4 separate regions of the Homo sapiens genome follow, and all the other regions are linked to region 4. Evidence: promoter capture Hi-C in human tissues and cell types (Jung and others, 2019). All regions are on one chromosome and are shown on one strand. The core of a region is centred on a gene start or on the middle of the fragment in contact, and the rest is flanking DNA. Distances in the headings are between cores, read along the strand shown. Region 1 has its middle 140 kb from the start of ARHGAP20. Region 2 has its middle 180 kb from the start of LINC02550. Region 3 has its middle 190 kb from the start of ARHGAP20. Region 4 holds the start of ARHGAP20 (Rho GTPase activating protein 20).

Region 1 (2,935 bases), core at 88-2,587, 140 kb before region 4:
AGATTTATTCAATTGGCAGAAAAAAACACCCAAGCCCTTGTAACCAGGAAATACATGATTACGGCATTCAAAATTGTCATTTAATTTGTTTTAGTATTCAGCCTGCTCTTCTACGTCCAGAAATTCTACACTGAAGCAATAAGCAAATGAGGTCAATTCCTATTTATTGCAGTTTCATTGGATGTTTAGTATCTACTGGGGCTTCTTTTGGCATTGAGATGGCCTATGAGAAGACTGGACATGAGTGATTTAAACAAAAACAGGAAATCAGGGCCTCCCTCAGATCCCTGCTTATTGCCACATAGCTAGCCTTTCTTCTAGTACCCAGCTCTTTGCATGTCACATGATTACAAACATGGACAACTGGGCTCCTGCAGTAACAAGGAAGACTGAAGTTGGTCCTATGCAACATCACAGCCACCCATCTAATTGAACAAGGATACCAAGTTGCTTTTCTTACATGATGTTAAGCAGTTACGTGATTTTGCTTCTCACTTAGTTGACAGATTTAGAGGCTATTAGACAGAACTCAAATCCCAAGTCTCTTAATCCCTGATTTGTAACAACCAAAAAATGTGAGGCTTACTATTCTTTCTTTCTTTCTTTTTTTTTTTTTTTTTTTTTTGAGACGGAGTCTCGCTCTGTCGCCCAGGCTGGAGTGCAATGATGCGATCTCAGCTTGCTACAACCTCCGCCTCCTGAGTTCAAATGATTCTCCTGCCTCAGCCCCCTGAGTAGCTGGGATTACAGGCTCCCACCATCACACCCAGCTAATTTTTGTATTTTTAGTAGAGACGGGGTTTCACCATTCTGGCCAGGCTGGTCTGGAACTCCTGACCTCGTGATCCACCTGCCTTGGCCTACCAAAGTGCTGGGATTACAGGCATGAGCCACCATAACCTGCCCGAGGCTTAGTATTCTTATGGCCCCTTCCTTTATGCTTCCCAATGCCAACAAATCTGGCACATAAAACTACTATTAAAACCACTCAAATATGGTGCTTGTAGTAACAAGAAGAAATAGGTGGTTAACTCAATTTCTCCCTTTTAAAACAGCCTGCAGTTTATCCCATCTGATACTATACCACCCTGTTAAACTAAGGCTTTACCAAAATACTTAGCCCTCCTCCTAACACAGCCAGCCAATTCCCTCCCCACATGCAACCACCACCTTCATCCTTCTGTGCTCTCTCACGTTTGGTTCATTTCAGTTCAGTCTTTATCCATCCCTTATTCTGTATAGCAATGTGCGAAAGCTAAGGTCTACACCGACAGGCTAGTAGCTATGGTTCGGGAAAAACCACTTTCCTGGACCCACATGACAGATACTGAATTGAGACACTAGACAGCCAAAATGTACTCAGTGCCTGTTAATGACAAACACTTCATATGCGTTATCTGACCAGGTCCTCACAATAACCTTATGAGGATAAGAACAGGTTACCTCACATCACTCTGGCTAGAAGCGGACACAGGCCCACCTCTAAACCAATCCCCGGAGAAGGCACAATTGACTTATAAGATAACTAGAATCTATCGACAGGTACTTAGAAGGGAGTCTACTTCCTTCTCCTGAAACCCAGAATTATGTGGAGAAGGAATGCATTTTTTTTTTGAGATGGGATCTCACTCTGTTGCCCAGGCTGAAGGGCAGTGGCATGATCTTGGCTCACTGCAAGCTCTGCCTCCCCAGTTCAAGCGACTGGGAGTGCATTTCTAAACAAAATTGAGAATTTATTGGGAATAAGAAGAGAAGAATATAAGTGCTGGATCTGCTATACTCATCCCACACTGTCAATTTCTGCCTGTTCTATTTCTCAGTGTTTCTTATGTTTATTTTCTTCCTCCCATGCTCCAGTTTAATTAAATCCTTTGTATTTTTTTCCCTAGGTCACTATATTAGCATCAGAAATAGGTTCTCTGTCTTCAGTGTGTCCTTGAATCTGTACCAAAGGAAGCTTCCTAAGGTGCACTGTGATCAGCTGCCCCTTTCTGACACTCTTTCAGACATCCATGATCCCGGAGCTTCTCAGATCCATCCTGCCACCCATGAGAGACACCTTTTCTTTTTACTAATGCAAGCTCCTCAAATACCAGTGACTCTTCTGAGGAGCATGATTTGGAGAGATAAGGGATATATTTCATTAGAGGAGCCTTGTCCTTTGTTCTTGGATTATCTCTAACATAGGTGTAAAAAAACTATCTACTGCAAAGGTAAGTTAAGATACCTTGATTCATTTAAATTCTCTTCAAATCCATTCATTTACTCTTGTGGGATCTTGAATTCTCTTATTCTCTCTCTCTCTCTGTCTCACACACACACAGAGAGACACACACACACACAGAGCTGTGACTTGGGATGATGGAATAACGTAAAGAATACAGATATCAATCTGGCCACAAGAATTTTCAGGAATTTTGCTGATCTCATGACTCCCACCAACCGTCAGAGAACACACAATGCAATTATCTCTAGCCCGGGCATGTAAGAATTATGCTTTGATTTACTTTCCACAACCCCTCCCCATTTAGCCCCATCACTGCCCTATCTCACAATCTCTACAAAAACCCCACATCTCATGGAAAGCTGCTGAGGGAAATCAGGGGAGATGAGATGATTGAATCTCCATATGTGACCCTTACCACAGATTAGAAGGGTTCATTCTGGGGCAGGAGGGGAGGTTTTCTTCAGTGGCCTGTTTTAAGCGTGGAGCTAATAAATCATCTCCTATTAGGATCAAGGCACTCCAACTTCTTGGAAAGAGGGGTCAACATTCAAATCATTAGTTTCTTCCCTGATATTGGGAATCAGTAGATAAAGCCTACAAAGCAAACAGAGGAGAGGTAGAGAACTCCAATCTAAGGTAAAAGGGCATACAGGTTATACCAGTCCCAAGTATACTTATTTATTTAAAAAAAAATAATTTCTCACACCC
Region 2 (2,955 bases), core at 262-2,761, 210 kb before region 4:
CACGCCCCTCCTGCCTCTGGAGACCAGCTTCTCTCTGGCCTCAGTTACCTTCACCTGTTCCCCTTGATCCTTCCCTTAGGCTCATTTACCCACAAGGATGGTGGAGAGTAGGCTGCAATTCTTTGAAAACCTTCACTGAAAGTCAGGGATGGCAGAAGGAAAGCACAAAACAGACTTACTGTTGTGTGATGTTCAGAGCTGCTGGGCCCAGCAGGTCCTGAGCAAGCTCTTCCTGACTTTCTCTCAGCTGGCCACCATCTTGAAGGAATCGTCTTTCTTCTCTCCAGGGAAAATACCCAACAGTGTGTCTCCTAAAGAAAGGCTTAAGACCAACCTCCACCTCCACAGAGGAAGACGTACTCCCTGCAATCCTTGCCCACCTCCACAGTCTTGATTTCCTGTCCCAGGATTGACCTAGCCTTCACCAAGGGTAGATGTCAGCTGTGATTTCCATTTCCCTCAGAGAAGCTCCACCTCCACTCTCAGGGGTGTGGTCTTATCCTCTGGCTTCCATCAAGACAACTAAATTACCCAAGAACACAGCAGGTTAGCTTAGAACATTCCAGGCTAATCAGTCTTAAGAAAGACAAAGGGTTTGTTCTCAGCCAAGATACCATGGTATAGGAACTGTAATGAGCAAGGATTTATACACATAATTTTGATCCTGCTAACAGCATGGCAAGGTGAAGATAGTAAAACTCATTTTACACATGAGGAAACTGAAGTTCAGAAAGCTTAAAGAACAAGCCCAGGATCACTCAGCTGGAAAGAAGTGGAATCAGAATTTGAACTCAACTCAGCTTGAGATGTGACTTAAAATAGCCATTGTCTCTCCCTACTGTTACCTACCAGATACTCTACTGTCCGATTCCTTTGACTGTCCATTCTACATTGATACTTCTTTCCTTTCAGCTCTGTCTCCCTTTACCTAGCTGGAGTTTTCTTTGTCATAATCCTTCTCTTCTCTCCTCTCCTCTCCACCTCCTCCCTCTTTATCATCTTTCCTTCTCCTCTCCCTTGTCCTCCTTCATCTCCTAAATTTAGAACAAAGGTGGTATTTTCCTATCCATTTAGCAGTCTTACTTGTGAGAAGTGACTGGCAGTTTGATTAACGGGTAAGTGACTTGACTTTTCCTGGGAGCATTTTTGCTTTCCAAGGAGACCATTGTGGTTGTCACTGATCCCAGATCTCTGGCACAGTGTAATTTCTTCTAAAAATGTCAGAGTGCAAGGGCTATGTCCATATAAATACTAAAACTGAGCAGAAGTTACAGGTCCTTGGAGAAGAAAAGTTGTCTAATTGTGTGGCTGGTTTCCAAAATTCCCCTTGGTAATCCTTCCTTATGACTGTTTCTCTTTTACAAAAATACTTTCCAGAAGAGTTTGGAATTTGCCTTAAGAGGTGTCGGAGCACCTATCCCAAAACACACTCCAATAGCAAAGTTATCTGAAGCAAATTATTACTGGAGGCAGTGAGTGCAGGGCCTATATTCAAATGCTAAGTATGTGCTAACTTTGGTGGTCCTTTAAAGCCTCGCAGGAGAATATTAACTTTCCACATCTTTCAAAGTTACATTTTGTTTTTTGTTGTTGTTTTCAAATCAACTTGAAGACTAATTGTACAAGTAAAATAAAACAAAGAGCTGAAAAAAAAGTCTGGATAATTGGGTTAAAAACCCTACTACTGAAAGAAAAAAGGACAGGCACAGCCTCCACCAGACTGGCTTTTACTGCAGATCAAATTCCAGAAAGATAACTTATTTTTTCCCTATTCTGTTACATCTGGCACATTACTTAACCCTTCTATGTCCTTCCTGTGCCCAAAACGATACCAGTTACAATTCAGAGAGACAAGAATGCTTGGCAAATATCCTGAAAGGAAGGGCTCCTCCTCCTAGGACTTGCAAGTCTGGCCCCGTTCTGGCACTCTGGGAAGAGGTGGAGGAGAGAGGGTTTCTGTCTTGATTTCTAGAGTATTTGCCACTGATTTGGACCCATTGTTGACTGTTTACTTTTGGCTTCTTTTGCTTGAAGTTGAGACCTGGACATTCTGAAATGAAGAAACAAAGAAGGATGTATGCAGAAAGTAAGGAGTTAGATGGTGTGTAGGAATTATTATCATTGATTCTCTGAGCATAAGCCCTGTACCAGTGGGTAACTTGTGGTTTTATACTCAAGTATTTGTATATTCCTTGGCCATGGAAAAATTGTTATCAATTTGCCCCAGATACATGCTAGTCTTACATCTAGATTGATCTTCACATTTGCAGAGACAAGTCTTGATTGTGACAGTATAGGCCTTAAGAGAAAAAAAAATGCCAAGATTGTAAGAAATTCTCACTATAAAGGCAAATAGAATCAATCTTTTTTTCAACTGTATTGAGGTATAATTGAAAAACAAAAATTGTATATATTCAAGGTAAACAACATAATGTTTTGATATATGTATACACTGTGAAATGATTTCCACACTCAAGCTAATTAGCATACACATAACCTTACATAGTTACCTTTTGTGTGTGTGGTGCAAATACTTAAGATCTACTCTCTTAGTATACAATAGATTATTATTGGCTATAGGCACCTTGCTGAACATTAGGTGTCTAGAACTTACTTATTTTATTTTATTTTACTTTGTTTTGAGACAGAGTCTAGTGCTGTCACCCAGGCTGGAGTGCAGTAGCACGATCTTGGCTCATTGCAACCTCCACCTCCCAGGTTCAACTGATCCTCATGCCTCAGCCTCCCAAGTAGCTGGGACTTCAGGTGTGTGCCACTACATCCAGCTAATTTTTTGTATTTATTTTTTAGTAGAGACGGGATTTTACCATGTTGGGCAAGATGGTCTTGAACTCCTGGCCTCAAGAGATCCACCCACCTTGACCTCCCAAAGTGCTGGGATTACAGGGCATGAGCCACCACACCCAGCTGAACTTACTCATTTTATAACTGGAA
Region 3 (3,240 bases), core at 448-2,947, 190 kb before region 4:
AATACTAATGTGCTGCCTAAATATTTTATCTTCAATTTTCCATTCAGTGTGAACCATCCAAAATAAAATGTAAAAATGATGATTTTGGAGATGTGATACCATCCCTAAGGGGAGGATGGGGTGGGGATTTTCAAAAAGATATAAAATGGCTCTTAAAAATAGAAGAAAGTGTTGTTAATTAGAAGTGCCCTTCCCCCTATATTGCAGACTACTTATTTTGGGTAGGATGGAGGGACTTTTTAGGAAGCTCATGTGGTTGTTTTAGTCTCCAGAAGCACATACTGGCCTGGCTTTGGGGACCATGTGATTCTTCAATGACTCCTGTTGCTTCCAAGGCCACAGAGTCAGAGATCTCCAATTTCAGGCCTCCCACTGTCAGAACCTGTCTCCTCGCCCCCAATCCTACCCCACCGCCCCAGGGTATAGGCAACTCCTCATTTCTTCTGGGCTGGGTCATGGCCTCTTCAGGCAGCCTCTGGGGAAGCTTTGGCAGTAACTTGGTCCTGTGATAGAGAGGTGTGAGAGTTCCTTATCGGGGACTGTTCTAGGCTGGGTTGTGTCTCTCTAAGTTTTATATATTGAAGTACTAACTCCTAGTACCTCAGAATGTGACCTTATTTGGAAATAAAGATGTGATTAGATGTGATTGTAGATGTGATTAGTGAAGATGAGGTCATACTGGAGTAGAATGAGTCTCTAATCCATTATCACCGGGATCTGTATAAAAAGGGGAAATTGGGACACAGACATGTGTAGAGGAAAGACAGTATAAAGAGACAAGGTGAGAACATCATCTCCAGGCCAAGGAATGCCTGCAGCTACCAGAAGCTAGGGGACAGGCTTAGAACAGATTCTCTCTCACAGCCCTTAGATGGAACCAATCCTGCCTACATTTTGATCTTGGACTTCTAGCCTCCAGAAGCAGGAGACAATAAATTTCTGCTTTGCAAGCCATCCAGGTTGTGTTACTTTGTTGGTTTGTTAAGAAATGAACGCAGGGAACTTTTCTCCTATTCCAAGTCCATAGAATCCCTTTCCGAGTCTTCCTCCACTATTGCCTAAATCTTCCCCTTCTAAAACTGGGCTGTCCTTAAAGGACCGTATTTGTACTTAGCTCAGGCCTCATCTCTCTCCTAAGGCGATCTGCATGGAAATTTTATATGTGGTTGTGAAATGTGGAGTCTTGTCCCCTGTTTTGGAAGCAATAAAACATGGAGGTCGAAAGCATAGGCTTGGCAGTCAGAAAGCACAGTGTTTAATAGCTTCCTGGCTGTTGGACTTTGAGAAGTTAAAGAAGCATGAACTTCTCATCTGTTAAATGGGGCACTAATGCTCCTCAACTTCTATGATTAGGTGAGATTGTAAAAGGAAGGCACTTAGCACAATTCCTGACAGATAAGCACCTCCATTAATGAGAGCTATTAAAAATAGTACCTATTAGGGGGAGCTTCAGGCATGGAGGAACAGGGGTGGGGGCGTGTGCATGGAGTCTTTTCAGCTCTCTGAAATTAGACTAGACAGCTGCCTACTCGGTTATGTAACTCTTGAGTCACATTTATAGTCTCCATTAAGCCGAATAACCACATGACCCCTGTGTGTCTTAGAGAATCTAAGAAAATATCAATTTTAACATGAAAATAAAAGGGTTTGCTGAGCCACAAGATGCAAATGATATCCAGAACCAAGTAATGCTGTCCCCTGCTTCTTCCAGCAGGGTGAGAGGAGTCAGCACATACAGGTCAGGTACCTAGAATCAGTCAAACCCAACCCTGAGGTGAGAAAACACAGCTCCCCTTCTATTCATCTGCATGACCATGGGCCACTGTCTTAGTCTCTCTGAGCTTTAAGTCCCTTACCTGTAAAGGGTCCTGGAGGATAGTGTTGTTGTTCACAAATATTTCCTGCTCTTCTCAGGGGATGTTACAATCTCTGACCCCAATCATATCTCAGTTGTCCCTATGACTTGCTTTGACCAGTGAAAAAGGAGGGGACATGATGGGTATGCCCTCAGGCCTCTTCTTACCTCTGTTATCATGGAAGCACCTGTCAAGATGGCACCACTATTAGCCTGGTCCTGAGTGTGTACAATAAGTAGGTCACCTTCGTGAACTATGACCACAAGCAATCAAACAACTTTGCTGCTTTAAGACCCTGAGATATTAGAGTTGTTTGTTTCCACAGCACAACTTAGCTCATTTGGACTGATATGGGTAGGAAGGCAGACATATGCTTCATGGGGCTCTGGGGAAAGGCTTTTCAAATATGAAGTGCCTTACAATTATAGGCCAATACTTGAGAGAAAAAGAAACTTTAATTCCCATGAATTATCCCCTACTCCTACCAAAACATTATGATTAATAATTAAATATTAGTTGAGGAAAAAACAAACAAAAAATCCCCACTGATCAGGCAAACTCCTTTCTCTCAAAGTAGACAGAGGAAAGAAGGAGATATGAAGCAGAATTATTGACAACAGACTTAAAAAGAAGCACCTTGGAAGCTTGCTTAAATCAGGCCGTCCTCCCACTGGCTGTCTCAAGTCTCTTACCTTCTGATTTTTGCCTTTTTGTGCATACTTCAAATGTCTAAAAGAGCTACTTGAAAATTGTATTTTTCTTTATATTTGAGAGGAAACCCATCAAATGTGCACATAAAGTCATAATGTTCCAGGTCATAGAAAGAAAGAAAAAGATAGAAATCAATTATTTAGAAGGCACTCATTTGTTTCCTGTAAAGCTTGTAATATGCATTATTTATTGTACGGAGAGAGCAAAAAGGGCTTTCTTATTCACGTGACAAATTCACCAATGACCCTAGAGGAAACTTCCGTTTTGTTGTCCTCAATGTAGAAAGTCTTAGCATAGGTCATCAAAGAAAAAAAAGGAGATAATGCCCAAAACACAGTTGACATAGTATTTCACTTTCATATTTATATTTGAATAGGTGAATGACAAAAATTCTGCTAATTTTCTTCAATCAGGTTAATTAAATCACACAGAAGACTTTACCCAGAAGTATCCAACCAACATCCTCATTCTACTCCTTGTTTGGTTATTTCCTGCTCCATTGCAAATGAACAACACTAACTCACAGATTATTATTTTTCTTAAAGTCCCTGAGAAAATAGAATTGCCTTTTTCTCTTTTGAAAAAATTCCTTCTATTTGGTTTGCACCTTTCTGGGACCAAGATGTTTGTTTTAAAATAGAGGCAACCTCAAGCCTCCTTTCCTTCCAATTCT
Region 4 (3,145 bases), core at 519-3,018:
TGCTTCAAGCACTTGGTATACGACAAAGAACAACAATAACAACAACAACAACAAAAGCCCACAAAAGATTCCTGCCCTCTGGAAGCTTGCATTTCTCTGAGATATAGATAATAAACACTAAACATACTAAGTAAATTACATGATATATTAGAAGGAGATAAGTGTTATCGAAATAAAACAGAGTAAGGAAAATTGGGAGCGTGCATTTATGATAGGAACCAAAAGAGGCTAACGAGTTGTAAGTGGATGATTTCAGCAAGGAATGAAAGGAACTGCAAAGCCCTCTGCGTGTAGAATTCATGACAAACTCTATGGTGGGGGCAAAGTCCTGTCGCTGCACATGGGTCTCAGCTGCAAAAAGAGAGTAGCCATGAAAAACTGTGTGTGTATATGCACACATACATAAACACAATAATAGATGATTTACAAATCATACATGTGATTTATACGTGTGTGTGATTTATACGTGTGTGTGATTTATAAAGCCTATGTAAGCCTACTTTAAACAGTGTGAGGTGGACAAGGCTTAAAACGGGCTGGAACATTTTCCCCCTATTATTTCCACAATAAACCATTCCTGGGCATGGTGGTGATGTGTGCGCGCGCGAGTGTGTGTTGGACAGCATCCCTTCCTTGGAACAGAGCCGGCCAGAGCCCTATTCTTCTACAACCTGTCCTAATAACAGCCTAACCTGGCAGGAACCTCGATTTTTTTCTTCTTACCACAAAAGCAAACCAAACCCCTTCCACAACCTAATATCATAGCGTGGTGTCCTTCCTCACTAATCCGCCACTGCTTCTCTAGTCCTGACTCCAAGGGAAGAATGCCATCTACCGAATCATCCGTACCAGTCAACCAGCCCCGCAAAGTGCAGCAACACTCAGCTCAACGCGGGTCAGCTCCAAATCCTCTCCCTCTGATTATTCTTTGGCCTTTAAAATATTTTTGCCTCTATTTGGGCTGACAGGAAGTTATGCTCTCGGCGCAGATATCTGATAAACACTTCCACATATTGTAGCCTTCTCAATAGCTTAGCCAAATTTCGGCGTCCTCGCTCTGTCTGCATTTTCCTTCATTGCTCTTTCACGTTTGGAATGCCCCCGTCTCTGCAGCCTGCAGACAGCGGAAACCGCGGGTGCAAATGTGCAGGGGCCGCTGACATGACCGGCTGCAGAAGCCCACTCAGGGTTACCCGAACAGGCTAGCGTTCGGGATTGCACAAGAGGTCAGGCGATGCTGTGGGCTTCCAAATTTGTACAGCTGCGACACTCTGCGACGTGCCACCCTATCCCCAGTGGGGTGGGGTGGGGGATTCCCTCCGCAGTCCGCTGAAAGCGAGGCAGGAATCACTGCAACTCCTCTGCTCAGGCTGAGGTCGCCACCGCTCCGCGGATGCACGCGCTGCAGGGGCGCCTTCCGCCGCGGGCACGGCGCGGGAAGGGATGGGGTCTGGTGGGAGTGGGCAGGTGGCGGGAGAGGCGCGTGTCCGTGCACTAGAGGCCCCCGTGCGTGACACAGGCCGATGAGCTCCTGCGGGCTGCACCCACGCGGAGTCACAGACCGAAAAGGTCAGCCGGTGGCCGGTGTGCTAACATATATAGAGAGACGCCCGCCAGGCGCGCCGCAGGCTGGGACGAGGCTAGGAGGGCCCAGGCTGGAGGAGGGCTGAGGAGGGCTGCGGGGGCGGGCCCCGGCGCAGGGCGCCCGGAGCGGAGGGGGCGGGCCCGAGGCGGGGCGGGCCGCGGCGCTGACGGGCTGTCGCCGCTGCACTCGCCTCCAGCCCGCGGTGTCGAGCGCAGGCGGAGGTACATGGCCCCGACGGGAGGCGCGCGGCGAGCACCCGGAGCTCGGCTCCCTGCCTGAGCACGGCAGCCGCGCCTCCGCCCGCGCGTCCTCGCCCCTCCGGCCGGCAGCCCGCGGACATGATCGTGTAGCCTCCTCCTGGGCTGGGATTTGTTTGAAGATTTTCTTCATGGAAGCGATGTCCCCCCAGCAGGAGACTCTAGGGGGACAGCCGGGGCGCTCCTCTTCCCTGACAGGAGTGTCTCGGCTCGCGGGAGGCAGCTGCACCAAGAAGGTGAGGACGCTGAGCGGGGGCCCGTGCCCTCCGCCGCCGCAGCCCCCACTGCCGGCGCGCGCCCTCCGCGCCCGCCACAGCAGCGCGCTAGGCGGACGCCGCGGGAATTTGACGCTCGAGGCTCGCGGCCCCTAATGAGAGTCCCAGAACACTTCCCGCCCTTGACGGCCAGCGGCAGCGCCGCCGCCTCCCGCAGAGCGCCCGCTTCTCCGTTTCTAGAGCCTTAGTCTCTCCTCGAGCGACCTCGCAGCCTCCCTCCCGTCTCCATCCGCCGCCGGTTCTGCAGCCCGGCTCCTCCCTCAGTCTAGGCGCGCGGGCTGTAGTGGGCGATCGCCTTTCCCCGACCCCTCGCCGTGCCCCTGGGCCTCCCGAAGTGGCCTGGGCGAGCACTGACTGCCCTTTGGCGGTGTCAGCCCCAAAGTCAGGGCCGGCGATGTCTGCCCGGGAGCGGCAGCCGGCGCTGAAGAAGGTAGGCAGCGGGGCTGCGGCGCTGGTGGGCTCGGCCCCCTCACCTGCCCGCCGAGGCGCGGCTGCTCCATAGCAGTTTTCGGGGGGCAGATATGGGGAGTACTGCCCCCCACACCAGGGTCCTGGATGATTCCGGGTCTCCCAGGTGGGGGTCACAGTTTGAGGGGCGACTGTGGATGATAACGCTCGACACTACGGGGACATGTAGGTTCGGCTGGGCCTAGAACCGAGCAGGGTGGGGGCGGGTGGGCTGTGGTTGGGGGTCCTGAGGGCTGAGGTGGGGGACCTTCTCCCTGCACTGGTCCCTGGCCCCTGGGACTCTGGCCGGGCTGGATAGGGATCCGGGTGTCGGTGTGGGCGTGGGGGCAGCGCGTGTTCCCTGTCAAAGCTGGGAGAGGGATGCAGGTGACAACTTGTAGCGTTCCATTCCGATAAACACGGCCGCTGTGCTGCGGGAGGATTCCGATCCGGGTCAGGTTTCGCTGGAACGGTTCCCTGAGCAAGTGCACGTGGGCCGCGGGCTGCCGGCCTCTGCCGTTTCGCTCCCTGAGGAATTGATTTGGGTGTTTCTAGCCCTGTCTGCCTGTCCCCCGCCTCCC

Evidence for each region. Contacts are between HindIII fragments. The study calls those that stand out against the background at their distance.
Region 1: a contact is called between a fragment that was not itself captured here and the fragment with the promoter of ARHGAP20 in region 4, in 2 of the 25 tissues and cell types used here (IMR-90 fibroblasts and aorta).
Region 2: a contact is called between a fragment that was not itself captured here and the fragment with the promoter of ARHGAP20 in region 4, in 1 of the 25 tissues and cell types used here (IMR-90 fibroblasts).
Region 3: a contact is called between a fragment that was not itself captured here and the fragment with the promoter of ARHGAP20 in region 4, in 2 of the 25 tissues and cell types used here (bladder and hippocampus).

The regions. Positions count from the first base shown.
Region 1 is chr11:110,850,492-110,853,426 of GRCh38, reverse strand. No RefSeq gene overlaps it. Among named protein-coding and RNA genes, the nearest start is that of ARHGAP20, 140 kb to the right of the region's middle. The HindIII fragment of the contact is 3,044 bases long and covers 1-2,859 here.
Region 2 is chr11:110,916,116-110,919,070 of GRCh38, reverse strand. No RefSeq gene overlaps it. Among named protein-coding and RNA genes, the nearest start is that of LINC02550, 180 kb to the left of the region's middle. The HindIII fragment of the contact is 6,942 bases long and covers 1-2,955 here.
Region 3 is chr11:110,899,901-110,903,140 of GRCh38, reverse strand. No RefSeq gene overlaps it. Among named protein-coding and RNA genes, the nearest start is that of ARHGAP20, 190 kb to the right of the region's middle. The HindIII fragment of the contact is 5,275 bases long and covers 1-3,240 here.
Region 4 is chr11:110,711,060-110,714,204 of GRCh38, reverse strand. It overlaps ARHGAP20 (Rho GTPase activating protein 20), which reads left to right and starts at 1,768. Exons shown (of 15, transcript NM_001384657.1): 1 at 1,768-2,078. The coding sequence starts at 1,974. RefSeq lists silencers at 1,657-1,816, 1,837-1,896 and enhancers at 1,420-1,921, 2,904-3,145. The HindIII fragment of the contact is 8,017 bases long and covers 1-3,145 here.